3 separate regions of the Homo sapiens genome follow, and all the other regions are linked to region 1. Evidence: promoter capture Hi-C in human tissues and cell types (Jung and others, 2019). All regions are on one chromosome and are shown on one strand. The core of a region is centred on a gene start or on the middle of the fragment in contact, and the rest is flanking DNA. Distances in the headings are between cores, read along the strand shown. Region 1 holds the start of POLR3K (RNA polymerase III subunit K). Region 2 holds the start of RGS11 (regulator of G protein signaling 11). Region 3 overlaps FAM234A (family with sequence similarity 234 member A).

Region 1 (4,299 bases), core at 1-2,500:
AATACAAAAAATTAGCCGGGCGTGGTGGCGCGTGCCTGTAGTGAACCCGGGAGGGGGAGGTTGCAGTGAGTCGAGATGGCACCACTACACTCCAGCCTGGCAACGGACCAAGACTCAGTCTCAAATAAATAAATAAATAAATAAAAAGACAGTATCGTCCCAAAGCATGATACTGACGCTTTGACACATGATTGACGCTTGAGGCAAATGGAACAATCAGTACTACTAATCTTGCTCTTATTTAAAACTAAATTTTTCTTTTACCGTAGGCTCTTTTTTTGCCTCAACTTTGACTTTTAAAGGTATTACAGGCCAGGCGGGTGGCTCACACCTAAATCCCAGCATTTTGGGAGGCCGAGGCAGGAGGATCGCCTGAGCCCAGGAGTTTCAGATCAGCCTGGGCAACATAGTGAGACTCCCTCTGTACAAAATATTTAAAAATTAGCCGGGTGTGGTAGCGCGCACCTGTGGTCCCAATTACTCGGGAGGCTGAGGTGGGAGGACGCCGCTGCACTCCAGCCCGGGCAACGCAGCAAGACCCTGTCCCCCGAGCCCCCTAAATACAATTACATTAAAATGTCATTTGATGTCACTCACTAATGAGGTTTTTGGTTCCTCTTTAAGCTTCGCGCCCCAGGCGAGTGCGCCCGGTCAAGGTTAAAACCCTCGTTTACGCCCAGAGGCGCCTTCCTCAGCCTTGGGCCGCAGTCTCCCACCAGCACCTTCGGAGGCTGCCGGCGCCCGGATGCCCGGACCCCGGGGAACGACTCCCGCGCCCCCAGCCCCCGCCCGCACACACCTGGATCGGCAGATCGCAGAGCAGCGGGTCCTGCACCACCATAGCCAGACCCTCCTGGAACACGTCCATGGCCTCGGAGTGCGGCAGCGCCTCTTCTTCGTCCTCATCTTCCTCTTGCGCCTCGGGCCCACCCGCGGCCTCCGTCTCCTCCAGGGCCGCCCCTCTCAGCCGGGCTCTGCCCGCACTGCCAGCCCGCACTAGGGAGGCCAAGCGCGCACGCGCAGGAACTGCGGCCCGCCCCAGCGAGGCCGCCCAGCCACTGGCGCGCCGGGGGGGGTGGGGCGGCTGCAGTGACCAATGACAAGTGCGAGACAGCCTGCAGCAGGGCCGGGAGCGCAGAATCGCCCTGTCTATTGGTTGGTTGGTGTGGCGGGAAGGCTGCCAGGACCAATGTGAGCTCGAGGCGGGCGGCGCATCGGCGCTGAGCGGCAGTGGGAGCTGCCGGGAGTTGGAGCCTGCGGAGTTCGAGACCATGCTGCTGTTCTGCCCCGGCTGCGGGAACGGGCTGATCGTGGAGGAGGGACAACGCTGCCACCGCTTCGCCTGCAACACGTGCCCCTACGTGCACAACATCACCCGCAAGGTGGGACCCGAAGGCCGGCGCTGGGCGCGGGCGACTCTCGCAGGCCTTCCGCGTCCTCCGACTGCTGCTCCATCGCCGCCAGCCCCGGCGTCTGCCTCTGTCCGCTCTTTCTCGCGCCCCTTTCTGGTCTGCAGCAGATCTGTGGGCTCTACTTTCCAATACACTCAGAAAGCCCCACCGTTTCCCACCGCCTTGGGTTCCTGCTCCCACGCTCGCGCCCTTCTCTGCGTTCACAGCGGCGGCCACGGTGATTTCCTTAAAGCTGAGGCACGCAGGTCCGTGCTGTGCGCAGAAACCTTCGGCTCTTCTCCAGCTCACGCAGACGAAAAGCCGGAGTTCTCCCAGGGCCTACCAGGTTCCGACACTGACTCCCTCCCCTGCGTGCGTCTCCGATTTCAAGTCCTAATGCCCTTCCTGTTGCCCTTTGCCGCATCAACACCGCCTCCTGGACGATCTCTCATCGTGCTCATGGTGCTAGCAGGGCCTTTGCACTTGCTGTTGCTCAGTTCACTCTTCCCCTAGATCGCCACCTTACTCATTGGTCTTGTCTTTACCGTATTTTAAATTTCAGCCCCTCCTTCCAATTTATTCTCCTTCCCTTTGTAATTGTTTCCATAGGGCTTATTACCTTCTAATATATTATGTAATGTATTGTGTGCTTTCTTTATTTTTTTTTATTGTTTTTTTTTTTTTTTTTTTTTTTTTTTTTTGAGACGGAGTCCCGCTCTGTCGCCCAGGCTGGAGTGCAGTGGCGCGATCTCGGCTCACTGCAAGCTCTGCCTCCCGGGTTCACGCCACTCTCCTGCCTCAGCCTCCCAATTAGCTGGGACTACAGGCGTCCGCCACCACCCCTGGCTGATTTTTTTGTATTTTTAGTAGAGATGGGGTTTCACCGTGTGTTAGCCAGGACGGTCTCCTGACCTCGTGATCTGCCCGCCTCGGCCTCCCAAAGTGCTGGGATTACAGGCGTGAGCCACCGCGCCCGACCTTTTTTTTTTTTTTTTTTTTTTTTTTTTTTTTTTTTTTTTTGAGACAGAGTCTCGCTCTGTTTCCCAGGCTGGAGTGCAATGGCGTAATCTCGGCTCACTGCAACCTCTGCCTCCCGGGTTCAAGCAATTCTTCTGCCTCGGCTTCCCGAGTAGCTGGAATTACAGGCGCCTGCCACCATCCCCGGCTAATTTTTGTATTTTTAGTAAAGACGGGGTTTCACCGCGCTGGCCAGGCTGGTCTCGAACTCCCAACCTCAGGTGATCCGCTTGCCTTGGCCTCCCAAAGTGCTGGGATTATAGGCGTGAGCCACCACGCCTGGCCAGAATACCTTTACTTTTTAGCAGTTAGAATATGTTGGTGCTACGTCAGTCTTAATGTTTGCATGCTACTCCAGTTTGTACTGTGTTGTGGGAGTTTGGAGTTTGAAACTACGGGAAGAGTGAACTCTTTGTTTTTTTTTTTTTTTGAGATGGAGTCTTGCTCCGTAGCCCAGGCTGGAGTGCAGTGGTGTGATCTCGGCTCACTGCAAGCTCCGCCTCCCAGGTTCACACCATTCTCCTGCCTCAGCCTCCTGAGTAGCTGGGACTACAGGCGCCCGCCAACACGCCGGGCTAATTTTTTGTATTTTTAGTAGAGACAGGGTTTCACCGTGTTAGCCAGGATGGTCTCGATCTCTTGACCTCGTGATCCGCCCGTCTTGGCCTCCCAAAGTGCTGGGATTACAGGTGTCAGCCACCACGCCCAGCCGAGTGAACTCTTATGTAATCCTGAAATTTAAGGTTTGGCAGCCCAGGTTTGCGCTATTCAGTTACTTGGAGTCTGAAGTGTTGTTTTTGTTAGGTAACAAATCGGAAGTACCCAAAACTGAAAGAAGTGGATGATGTGCTTGGTGGAGCAGCTGCCTGGGAGAATGTTGACTCTACTGCAGGTAAGAGGGAAAACTGTTTCTGTTGCTAAACTGTGGATAATTATGAGGCTGTTGATGCCACTGCTTGGCAGAGTCTATGATGTCATATAAATGATGTAGGTTTCTAAAAATAGAAAATGGTTCTTGAATAATTTATTTGTATTTGTTACTGTTTAATAATCTGTCAGACAAGCAATATTTGTGCCAGCCTTGGAGTCATACAGGCCCGGGTCAGATTCTCAGGGCAACCTTGTATTGTTGTAGGACCTTCCTTGGGTCTCTTGACTTCTCTGGGGCTAATCCATATTCGTAGACCGCGAGAGCATAAAGTGAATTATACCGTGCTTGGTATATAAGAGGCACTCAACAGGTGATAGCTTTGATAATGGCAATGATGAGTAGATTAATAAAAATAAGAGTCTAAGGAAAAAAGTATGTTCTTTCTGTTTGATATGGTTTGGCTGTGTCTCCACCCTAATCTCATCTTGAATTATAGTTTCCGTAATCCCCAGGTGTCCTGGGAGGGGCCCAGTGGGAGGTAATTGAATCATGGGAGCGGTTTCCCCCCATGCTGTTCTCCTGATAGTGAGTGAGTTCTCACAAGATCAGATCGTTTTATAAGCGTTTGCGTTTCCCCTGCTCGCACTCATTCTGTCTCCTGCTGCTCTGTGAAGAGGTTCCTTTCGCCATGATTGTAGGTTTCCTGAGGCATCCCCAGCCACGCAGAACTGTGAGTAAATTAGACCTCTTTTCTTGGCTGGGTGTCGTGGCTCACGCCTGTAAATCCCAGCAGTTTGGGAGGCCAAGGTAGGCAGATCACTTGAGGTCAGGAGTTCCAGACCAGCCTGGCCCGCATGGTGAAACCCTGTCTCTATTAAAGATAAAATAATTAGCCGGGTGTGGTGGCGCTCGCCTGTAGACCCAACTGCTCAGGAGGCTGAGGTACGAGAATTGCTTGAACCCAGGAGGCAGAGGTTGCAGTGAGCCGAGATCACACTACTGCACTCTAGCCTCGGTGAC
Region 2 (4,299 bases), core at 1,169-3,668, 220 kb before region 1:
TATTTATCTACAAAAATAAAAATGAAATTAAAAAAAAAATTAGTGGCCAGGTGCGGTGGCTCATGCCTGTAATCCCAGCACTTTGGGAGGCCAAGGCAGGTGGATCACTTGAGGTCAGGAAGTTTGATACCAGCCTGGCCAACACGGTGAAACCCCATCTCTACTAAAAATGCAAAAAAAAAAACAAAAAAAAAAATTAGCCGGGCATGGTGGCGCATGCCTCTGATCCCACCTACTTGGGAGCTGAGGCAAGAGAATCGCTTGAACCCAGGAGGCGGAGGTTGCAGTGACCCGAGATTGCACCATTGCACTCCAGCCTAGGCAACAAGAGTGAAACTCCATCTCAAAATAAATAAATAAATAATTTAAAAAATAAAGAAAGCAAGCAGAAATAGATGCATTTGCACCTTTTAAAAATGGTGCTGAGGCTGGGCTCGGTGGCTCAGGCCTGTAATCCCAGCACTTCGGGAGGCCGAGGTGGGCAGATCGCCTAAGGTCAGGAGTTCAAGACCAGCCTGGCCAACAAGGTGAAATGCTGTCTCTACTAAAAATACAAAAATTAGCCAAGCGTGGTGGCGGGGGCCTGTAATCTCAGCTACTCAGGAGGCTGAGGCAGGAGAATTGCTTGAATCTGGGAGGAGGAGGTTGCAGTGAGACGAGATTGCGCCATTGCACTCCAGCCTGACAGAGCAAGACTCAGTCTCAAAAAAAAAAAAAAAAAAAAGATGCTGGCTGGGCATGCCTTTAATCCCAGCACGCTGGGAAGCTGAGGCAGGAGGATGGACTGAGCCCAGGAGTTTGTGACCACCTTGGGCAACATAGTGAGACCTCGACTTAGTTTTTAAAAAATGATCCGACCGGGTGTGGTGGCTCACACCTGTCATCCCAGAACTTTGGGAGGCCAAGGCAGGTGGATCACCTGAAGTCAGGAGTTTGAGACCAGCCTGGCCAACATGGTGAAACCCCATCTCTACTAAACATACCAAAATCGGCCAGGCACAGTGGCTCACACCTATAAGCCTAGCACTTTGGGAGGCCAAGGCAGGCACATCACCTGAGGTCAGGAGTTCGAAACCAGCCTGGCCAACGTGGTGAATCCCTATCTCTACTAAAAATACAAAAATTAGCTGGGTGTGGTGGCGCGTGCCTGTAATCCCAGCTACCTAGGAGGCTGAGACAGGAGAATCGCTGGAACCCAGGAGGCGGAGGCTGCAGTGAGCCAAGACCGCATCACTGCACTCCAGCTTGGGTGACACAGTGAGACTCCGTCTCAAAAACAAAAACAAAAATAAAAATTAGCCAGGCGTGGTGGTGGGAGCCTGTAATCCCAGCTACTCAGGAGGCTGAGGCATGAGAATTGCTTGAATTCAGGAGGCGGAGGTTGCAGTGAGCCGAGACTGCCCGGTGGGGCCTGAAGATCCTGGGCCTGGCTCGGGGTGCACCTGGGGGACAGGCATAGCCATTGGAGGAGGGAGAGAGCTGGGAGTGGAGTGGGGCCTGAAGCCTGGCGGCCGCCGGTGACACTAAGTGGGTGTGTGTTGAGGGCCTCCCTGCAGTAAAGCTCCTCTCCAACAGTGTCAGGGTGCCCTGGGCAGGGTTTCTGCTCATTCCCCAGCGGGCCACCCAGGCCTGCGTGGAGCTGAGGGAAGTGAGCCATGAGCCATCAGCCACTTTCCCGGAAGGACCCCGGATAAGGGACCCACAGCAGGAGATGGGGACAGCTGGGTCACACTCTGCAGCAGCCACGTGCTCCACTGACAGCCGGCATCCGGCCCATGTAGAAAGCTGACCCAATCTCTCATGCACCCTGCCCCTAACCAGCCACCGTCACAGCAATGTATGCAGTCTTGGCCACAAGCATCGCAGGACACAAGGCCTCGGGCAGTCATACCGCTGGCCCTGGCCCCGGCCCCACAGCCAGGCCTCTAGTCCCTGTATGTCCTCAGGGCCCCACACATAGGACCGGGGTTACAGTGGGCCCTAAACCACGTTTCCCACCCCAGTTCACTCTCCCTACGGGTCTCCTCTACTCACGGAACCCCTCTCCCTCTCTGAACCCCCATCCCCTCCGCTGCCCTCCCTGAGACCCTCCCCATAGTAACCCCCCCTCGCTGATGAGCCCCTCTGCCTCTCCCAGAGACCACCCCCTGCTCCAGCTGAGCTCCATCCCCTCACATCCCCCCTCGGCCCCCGGCCCACACCCTCCCCCGTCCCACTTCGCCTTCACCCACGAGGGCCTCAGCGTCCCGGGACCTGGGTCGGGGGGGTGACTCGGGTCGCTCGTGGGGGGCCGGCTCGTTTGCCTCTGGGCCGTGGCCGTGTCTCTTAAAACCCGAACCGGGGCCTGGGCGACTCTGGCCTCGCGGCCCGAGGGTTAACCCGGGCGCGGCGCGGCGCGGGGCGGGGCCGGGCGGGACGTCGGTCATCCCCGCCGGCCTCGCCCCGCAGCCATGGCCGCCGGCCCCGCGCCGCCCCCCGGCCGCCCCCGGGCGCAGATGCCGCATCTGAGGAAGGTGCGAGGCGGGTGGGTGTCCCGCCGTCCCCCGATTTCCCGGCGCCCGAGGCCGGGAGGGGCCGGAGAGCATGGGGACACGGGGGCGCGCGGGGCGGGGCGGGCCTGGGGCGGAGGTCTGCGAGGCCGGGAGGGGCGGCGAGGCCTGGGGCCCTTGGGGGTCTCCGGGGTCTCCCCGGCCCTCCCCGGCCCTCCCCGGCCCGCCCCGCGTCCCCGCCGCCAGCTGCGGCCTGGAATCCGCCGCCGCCGCGCGTTAATCTCCGCGCTCCCGGATCCGGGGCATCCCGGCCGGTGCCAGGGAATCAGGGTTGCGGGGCGGCCAGACACCCCCTGACGACTCCCTCCGCCCAGATGGAGCGGGTGGTCGTGAGCATGCAGGACCCCGACCAGGGCGTGAAGATGCGGAGCCAGCGCCTGCTGGTCACCGTCATTCCCCACGCGGTGACAGGTGAGGCGCGCCGGGGCGGGGGTGCGTGCGCGCCTCGGCCTCCCTCCACCTCTGTCTCTCCCGTGCAGGCAGCGACGTCGTGCAGTGGTTGGCCCAGAAGTTCTGCGTCTCGGAGGAGGGTGAGCGCCCTGCCTCCCACTGGGCCCTGGGGTCACTGGGCTGGTGGCCTAGGCCTGGGTTTTCCTGGAGTCTGGCAGTTCTCAGAGCCCTGCTGAGCGCGCTGTGCAAGGGTGGGGAGCACATAGGGGAGAGGAGGCCCGGCTCGTCCCGCCCTCGCCCGCTTCCGCGGCCCCGCGCTCACCGTCCCACCCCTCCCCAGAGGCCCTGCACCTGGGCGCCGTCCTGGTGCAGCATGGCTACATCTACCCGCTGCGCGACCCCCGTAGCCTCATGCTCCGGCCAGACGAGACGCCCTACAGGTTCCAGGTCAGGCTCGGGGGTGCAGGTGGGAGCCGGTGGGACCCCCACCCCCACCCACCCAGCTTACCAACTCGGGGAGACAGGAGGGGCGCCGAGCTTGCTGGGATTGGAGTGGGACTCCGCCATGTCGCCGTGGGCTGGTGGTCCATCGCCCCCTCCCCAAAAGTCCTGGACCGCAAGTACGGATGTGGTGAGAAGGACCCGGCTGAGGGATGGAGCCTCAGTTTTCCTGGGGACCACAGCAGGGCCCCACAAGGGGTCGTATGTGCAGAGGATTCTGCCATCTTCCTGGGGGTCCCTAGGCCCAGGTCCTGAGGGAGGGGCTGTGAAGGCCTGAGGACAGCATTCCTGCCCTCCCTAACCACATCAGGGTCCCGGGCCGACCTGCCGTCGGTTGTACCCCTCCCCAGGCACAGACTGTGACTACATCCAAGACTTGTGCAGGCCCCCAGCCCCACCCCGCCTTGAATGGGGGCTTAGGGTGACCAGTGAGGGAGGCAGTGTCTGAACAGGGCCCTAAGGAGCGAGTTGACCTCAGTTCTAGTTGGAGAGACTGGCCAGTGGTCAGTGGAGTCTCTCGGTGGTGGGCAGGCAGGGAGATCCTCAGACACCTCCTGCCCAGCCCAGGCTTCTTCCCAGGGAGGTCTGAGGGTGGGGTGACACTGGGGAGGCACAGACGCAGGCGTCCTGGACACCTTCTCCCTGCACCACGCCAGACCCCGTACTTCTGGACAAGTACCCTGAGGCCGGCTGCAGAGCTGGACTATGGTGAGCAAGGGGACGGCTGGCCCCAGACAAGTTCCCAGGACTGGGGGCCTCAGGGTGATGCCGTGAGGCAGGGCAGAGCTGGCCCCTCTGCAGGCTGTCCCTGTTCTTCCAGCCATCTACCTGGCCAAGAAGAACATCCGAAAACGGGGGA
Region 3 (4,299 bases), core at 569-3,068, 190 kb before region 1:
CAGAATCTTGCTCTGTCACCTAGGCGGGAGTACAATGGCGTGATCTTGGCTCACTGCAACCTCTGCCTCCTGGGTTCAAGCGATTCTCCTGCCTCAGCCTCCTGAGTGGCTGGGACTATAGGCACCCACCACCACACCCACCACCGCACCCAGCTAATTTTTGTATTTTTAGTAGAGACGGTTTCACCATGATGATCAGGCTGGTCTAGAACTGCTGACCTCGTGATCTGCCCACCTAAGCCTCTCAAAGTGCTGGGATTACAGGCGTGAGCCACTGCGCCTGGCCAAAAATGTAAACATTATTTTTAACAAACATTAAACTAAAAGAAAATAGAAGAGAATGTTTATGTATTGTTAGGGAAAGTCTTGAACGCATGACCCCAAAGGTGGAAATCATTAAGAAAAACACTGATGAACTAAATATATTATGAAATGTCTAACCCAAGCTTGTCCAACCCTCGGCCCAGGATGGCTTGAAGTGTGGCCTAACATAAATTCAGAAACTTTCTTAAAACATTCACAGATTTTTTTGCAATTTTTTTTTTTCAGCTCATCAGCTATCATTAGTGTTAGTGTACTTTATGTGTGGCCCAAGACAATTCTTCCAACGTGGCCCAGGGAAGCCAAAAGATTGTTGTTAGCTCCACAAAACAAACCAGGATAAATATTCTTAGGGTTTTCACAAACCCACAAAAGAAAGGCAAGGACCCCAGTGGGGAAACAGGAAACGAATTCATAACTGGGCAGTTCACTGAAGAGCACACGCCAGTGGCCGGTGCCCAGGGGAAACACACTCAGTCTCACTCATAGACACAGCAGGACCAATGACATTAACAAAAGTTAAGCATTTCATTTTATCTGATCTTGAGACAGGGTCTCACTCTGTGGCCCAGGCTGGAGGGCAGTGGTGATCTAGGCTCACTGCAACCTCCTCCTGCTGGGTTCGAGAGATTCTCCCACCTCAGCCTATAAAGTAGCTGGGACCACAGGTGTGCATCACCGCGCCGGGCAAATTTTTGTATTTTTTGTAGAGACAGAGTTTCGCCACGTTGCCCAGGCTGGTCTCAAACTCCAGGGCCCAAGTGATCTGCCTGCCTCAGCCTCCCAAAGTGTGGGCCACGCCCAGCCTAAAAGTTAAGCATTTTAAAATGTGTTGGTGAGAATATACGATAACAGGTCTGCAGTACAATAGTCGTGGGAATTTGAAATGGTAGTTATTGGTCGAGCGCGATGGCTCATGCCTGTAATCCCAGCACGTTGGGAGGCTGAGGCGGGCAGATCACCTGAGGTCGGGAGTTTGAGACCAGCCTGACCAACATGGAGAAACCCCATCTCTACTAAAAATACAAAAAAAAATTAGCCGGGCGTGGTGGTGCATGCCTGTAATCCCAGCTACTCGGGAGGCTGAGGCAGGAGAATCACTTGAACCTGGGAGGCAGAGGGTGCAGTGGCCAAGATCGTGCCATTCCACTCCAGCCTGGGCAACAAAAGCAAAATTCCGTCTCAAAAAAAAAAAAAAAAAAAAAAAGAGGTTACCATTCAGGGAAGCAGACTTCAGGGTCCAGCCCTGTGCTATTTTTACAACATTTTGTGAATCTATAAGTAGTCCAAAATAAAAAGTATAAAATAGAAAATCAAAAGAGAAAAGAAAACCGTTAGTAAGGGGGAGTGGGGTCAGAGGTTCATGTAAGTTTTAGAGGAAGAACCAGCTTCTCCACAGGCAGCTTGGTTTGTGCCTCAAAGCTACCTTAATATGAAGCTATTTTGTTCCAAAGGCAGGAGTCCTTTTAGTGTTTTGTTTATTTTTGGAAGAATATCAATAGTGGAGTTTTGTGGTAGCCTGAAGAAATACTGAAAGAAGAGCCAAACCCCTGGCATGTTACAATTCTCCATTACAAAATAATCACCAGCTTCCTCAAAACCATCCATTAAAATCATTTTCCGACCGGGCGCGGTGGCTCACGCCTGTAATCCCAGCACTTTGGGAGGCCAAGGCGGGTGGATCACAAGGTCAGGAGATCGAGACCATCCTAGCTAACACGGTGAAACCCCATCTCTACTAAAGATAGAAAAAATTAGCCGGGCGTGGTGGCGGGTGCCTGTAGTCCCAGCTACTCAGGAGGCTGAGGCAGGAGAATGGTGTGAACCTGGGAGGCGGAGGTTGCAGTGAGCCGAGATGGCACCACTGCACTCCAGCCTGGGTGACAGAGCAAGACTCCGACTCAAAAAAAAAAAAAATCATTTTCCTTTCCACTGTGGGGAAAAAACGGATATGCACAGCATTTATAACAATACTCCCCAAATACTTACCTGAGCAAATGCCAGAGTTTAAAAGGGGTCGTCTCCAAAGTCAGACAATGTGGTGACAATGAAAATGCCCCAAGGGGTGGGAACTCTTACTGCTATACAGCCTCTGCACATGCTTTCACACCGGCCTGGCCACAGAAAAGGGGTGTGTGTTTAACACGAATAAGGCCTGTCTTTGGAAAATTAAAAAGCTGGTCAGGAATTCCTTCACAGGATCTCCAGGTAAGACTTCCTTTTTGGAAACTTGACTGAGCCACCAGAAATAGGGGTAGTTATTAAAAGCCACAACGGCAAGGCAGCCAAAGCCAGGCAGTTCATGATTCAACCAGTTTGCAAATAAAGACACCATGAGACAGGTCCAAAGATTTGCTCATCAACAGCAAGAAGATACCAATGTTTTTCTCTACTGCGGTCATTAAAAATACCAGGAGCCGTAGCCAGAGCTTCAGGAACCTGACTGGCAGAGAAAATCCCCATGGACCCAGGTCAGAGAGACTTGAGCAGGGCACTGTCCTTGCTCTACTTTAGCATCCATACCATTGACCACAGAGAGTCAGGCCATGTGGCTATTTAAAAAAACAGAAAACAGAACTCAACAAGCTAATAACCAAAAATTTAACTTCATGGCCGGGCAGGGTGGTTCACGCCTATAATCCTAGTGCTTTGGGAGGCTGAGGCAGGAGGATGACTTGAGGCCAGGTGTTCGAGACCAGTCTGGGCAACATGGGGAGACCCCATCTCTACAAAAAGTAAAATAAAATTAGGTGTAGTGGCATGTGCTTGTAGTCCCAGCTACCTGGGAGGCTGAGGTGGGAGGTTAGCTTGAGCCCAAGAGGTTGAGGCTGCAGTGAGCTGTGATCATTATCACTACATTCCAGTTTGGGCAACAGAGTGAGACCTTGTTTCAAAAAAAAAAAAAAAAGTGAGGGCTCAGAAAGAAAAGAAAATTTGTCAATACAATACGTATTAATTAAGGTAAAAGACCTGACACGGGATGGGCGTGGTAGCTCACGCCTGTAATCCCAGCACTTTGGGAGGCTGAGGTGGGTGGATCGCAAGGTCAGGAGTTCGAGACCAATTTGGCCAACATGGTGAAACTCCATCTCTACTAAAAATACAAAAAATTAACCAGGCGTGGTGATGTGCATCAGTAATCCCAGCTACTCAGGAGGCTGAGGCAGGAGAATCGCTTGAACCCGGGGGGCAGAGGTTGCAGTGAGCTGAGATAGCGCCATTGCACTCCAGCCTGGACGACAGAGCGAGACTCTGTCTCAGAAAAAAAAAAAAAAAAGGAGCTGACACCAAGAATAACTTGAAGAAAGAAAGATAAACACAATACCTCATATATGGTTATTCAAACGGATTATTCCCCTGGCCTACAGAACTATCAGTAAGCCCGCGGTGACTCGTGCCTATAAACCCAGCATTTTGGGAGGCCGAGGTGGACAGATCACTGGAGGACAGGAGTTCAAGACCAGGCTGGCCAACATGGTGAAACCCCGACTCTACTAAAAATACAAAATTAGGTGGGTATGTTGGTGTCTGCCTATAGTCTCAGCTACTGGGAAGGCTGAAGCACGAGAATCACTTCAGCCTGGGAGGTAGGGGATGTGGTGAGCCAAGATCGTACTACTGCACTCCAGCCCGGGTGATAGACCAAGACTCTGTCTCAAAAAAAAGGACTATCGGTAAACCAGCTGTCCACTCTAGGCCACTGAGGCTGCCACACCTATCTGTCCTCCAGGGAGTCCACAGGCTACCCAGTCCTGAGTGGAAACTCTGATTAGGGGGAAGAACAAAACAATCCAGCAGTAGTTTGCACAGCTCATTAACATTTCGGCAGGGGTGGGGCAGGAATACCACAGTCCATGCAGAAAGGAAGTGACAGGTCTCTCCCTTTTCTCCAAGAGTTCTTTCTCTAAGAAGTTTACTGAGTCACAGAGAACAGAAAATAAAAACAAAAGTCTCATTCTAATTGCCTTTTTTTTTTTT

What was found. Contacts are between HindIII fragments. The study calls those that stand out against the background at their distance.
Region 2: a contact is called between the fragment with the promoter of RGS11 here and the fragment with the promoter of POLR3K in region 1, in 1 of the 25 tissues and cell types used here (H1 embryonic stem cells).
Region 3: a fragment that was not itself captured here is called in contact with the fragment with the promoter of POLR3K in region 1 in 1 of the 25 tissues and cell types used here (heart left ventricle).

What each region holds. Positions count from the first base shown.
Region 1 is chr16:50,559-54,857 of GRCh38, reverse strand. It overlaps POLR3K (RNA polymerase III subunit K), which reads left to right and starts at 1,250. Exons shown (of 3, transcript NM_016310.5): 1 at 1,250-1,382; 2 at 3,213-3,300. The coding sequence starts at 1,272. It overlaps SNRNP25 (small nuclear ribonucleoprotein U11/U12 subunit 25), which reads right to left and starts at 1,030. Exons shown (of 5, transcript NM_024571.4): 1 at 800-1,030. The coding sequence starts at 841. RefSeq lists silencers at 680-779, 920-1,239 and enhancers at 1,570-1,729, 1,458-1,984. The HindIII fragment of the contact is 23,499 bases long and covers 1-4,299 here.
Region 2 is chr16:274,063-278,361 of GRCh38, reverse strand. It overlaps RGS11 (regulator of G protein signaling 11), which reads left to right and starts at 2,418. Exons shown (of 17, transcript NM_183337.3): 1 at 2,418-2,513; 2 at 2,864-2,960; 3 at 3,029-3,079; 4 at 3,280-3,386; 5 at 4,097-4,148; 6 at 4,261-4,299. The coding sequence starts at 2,451. RefSeq lists an enhancer at 2,502-3,153. The HindIII fragment of the contact is 15,363 bases long and covers 1-4,299 here.
Region 3 is chr16:241,912-246,210 of GRCh38, reverse strand. The region is part of intron 1 of FAM234A (family with sequence similarity 234 member A); the gene reads right to left. Among named protein-coding and RNA genes, the nearest start is that of FAM234A, 9.2 kb to the right of the region's middle. The HindIII fragment of the contact is 7,678 bases long and covers 1-4,299 here.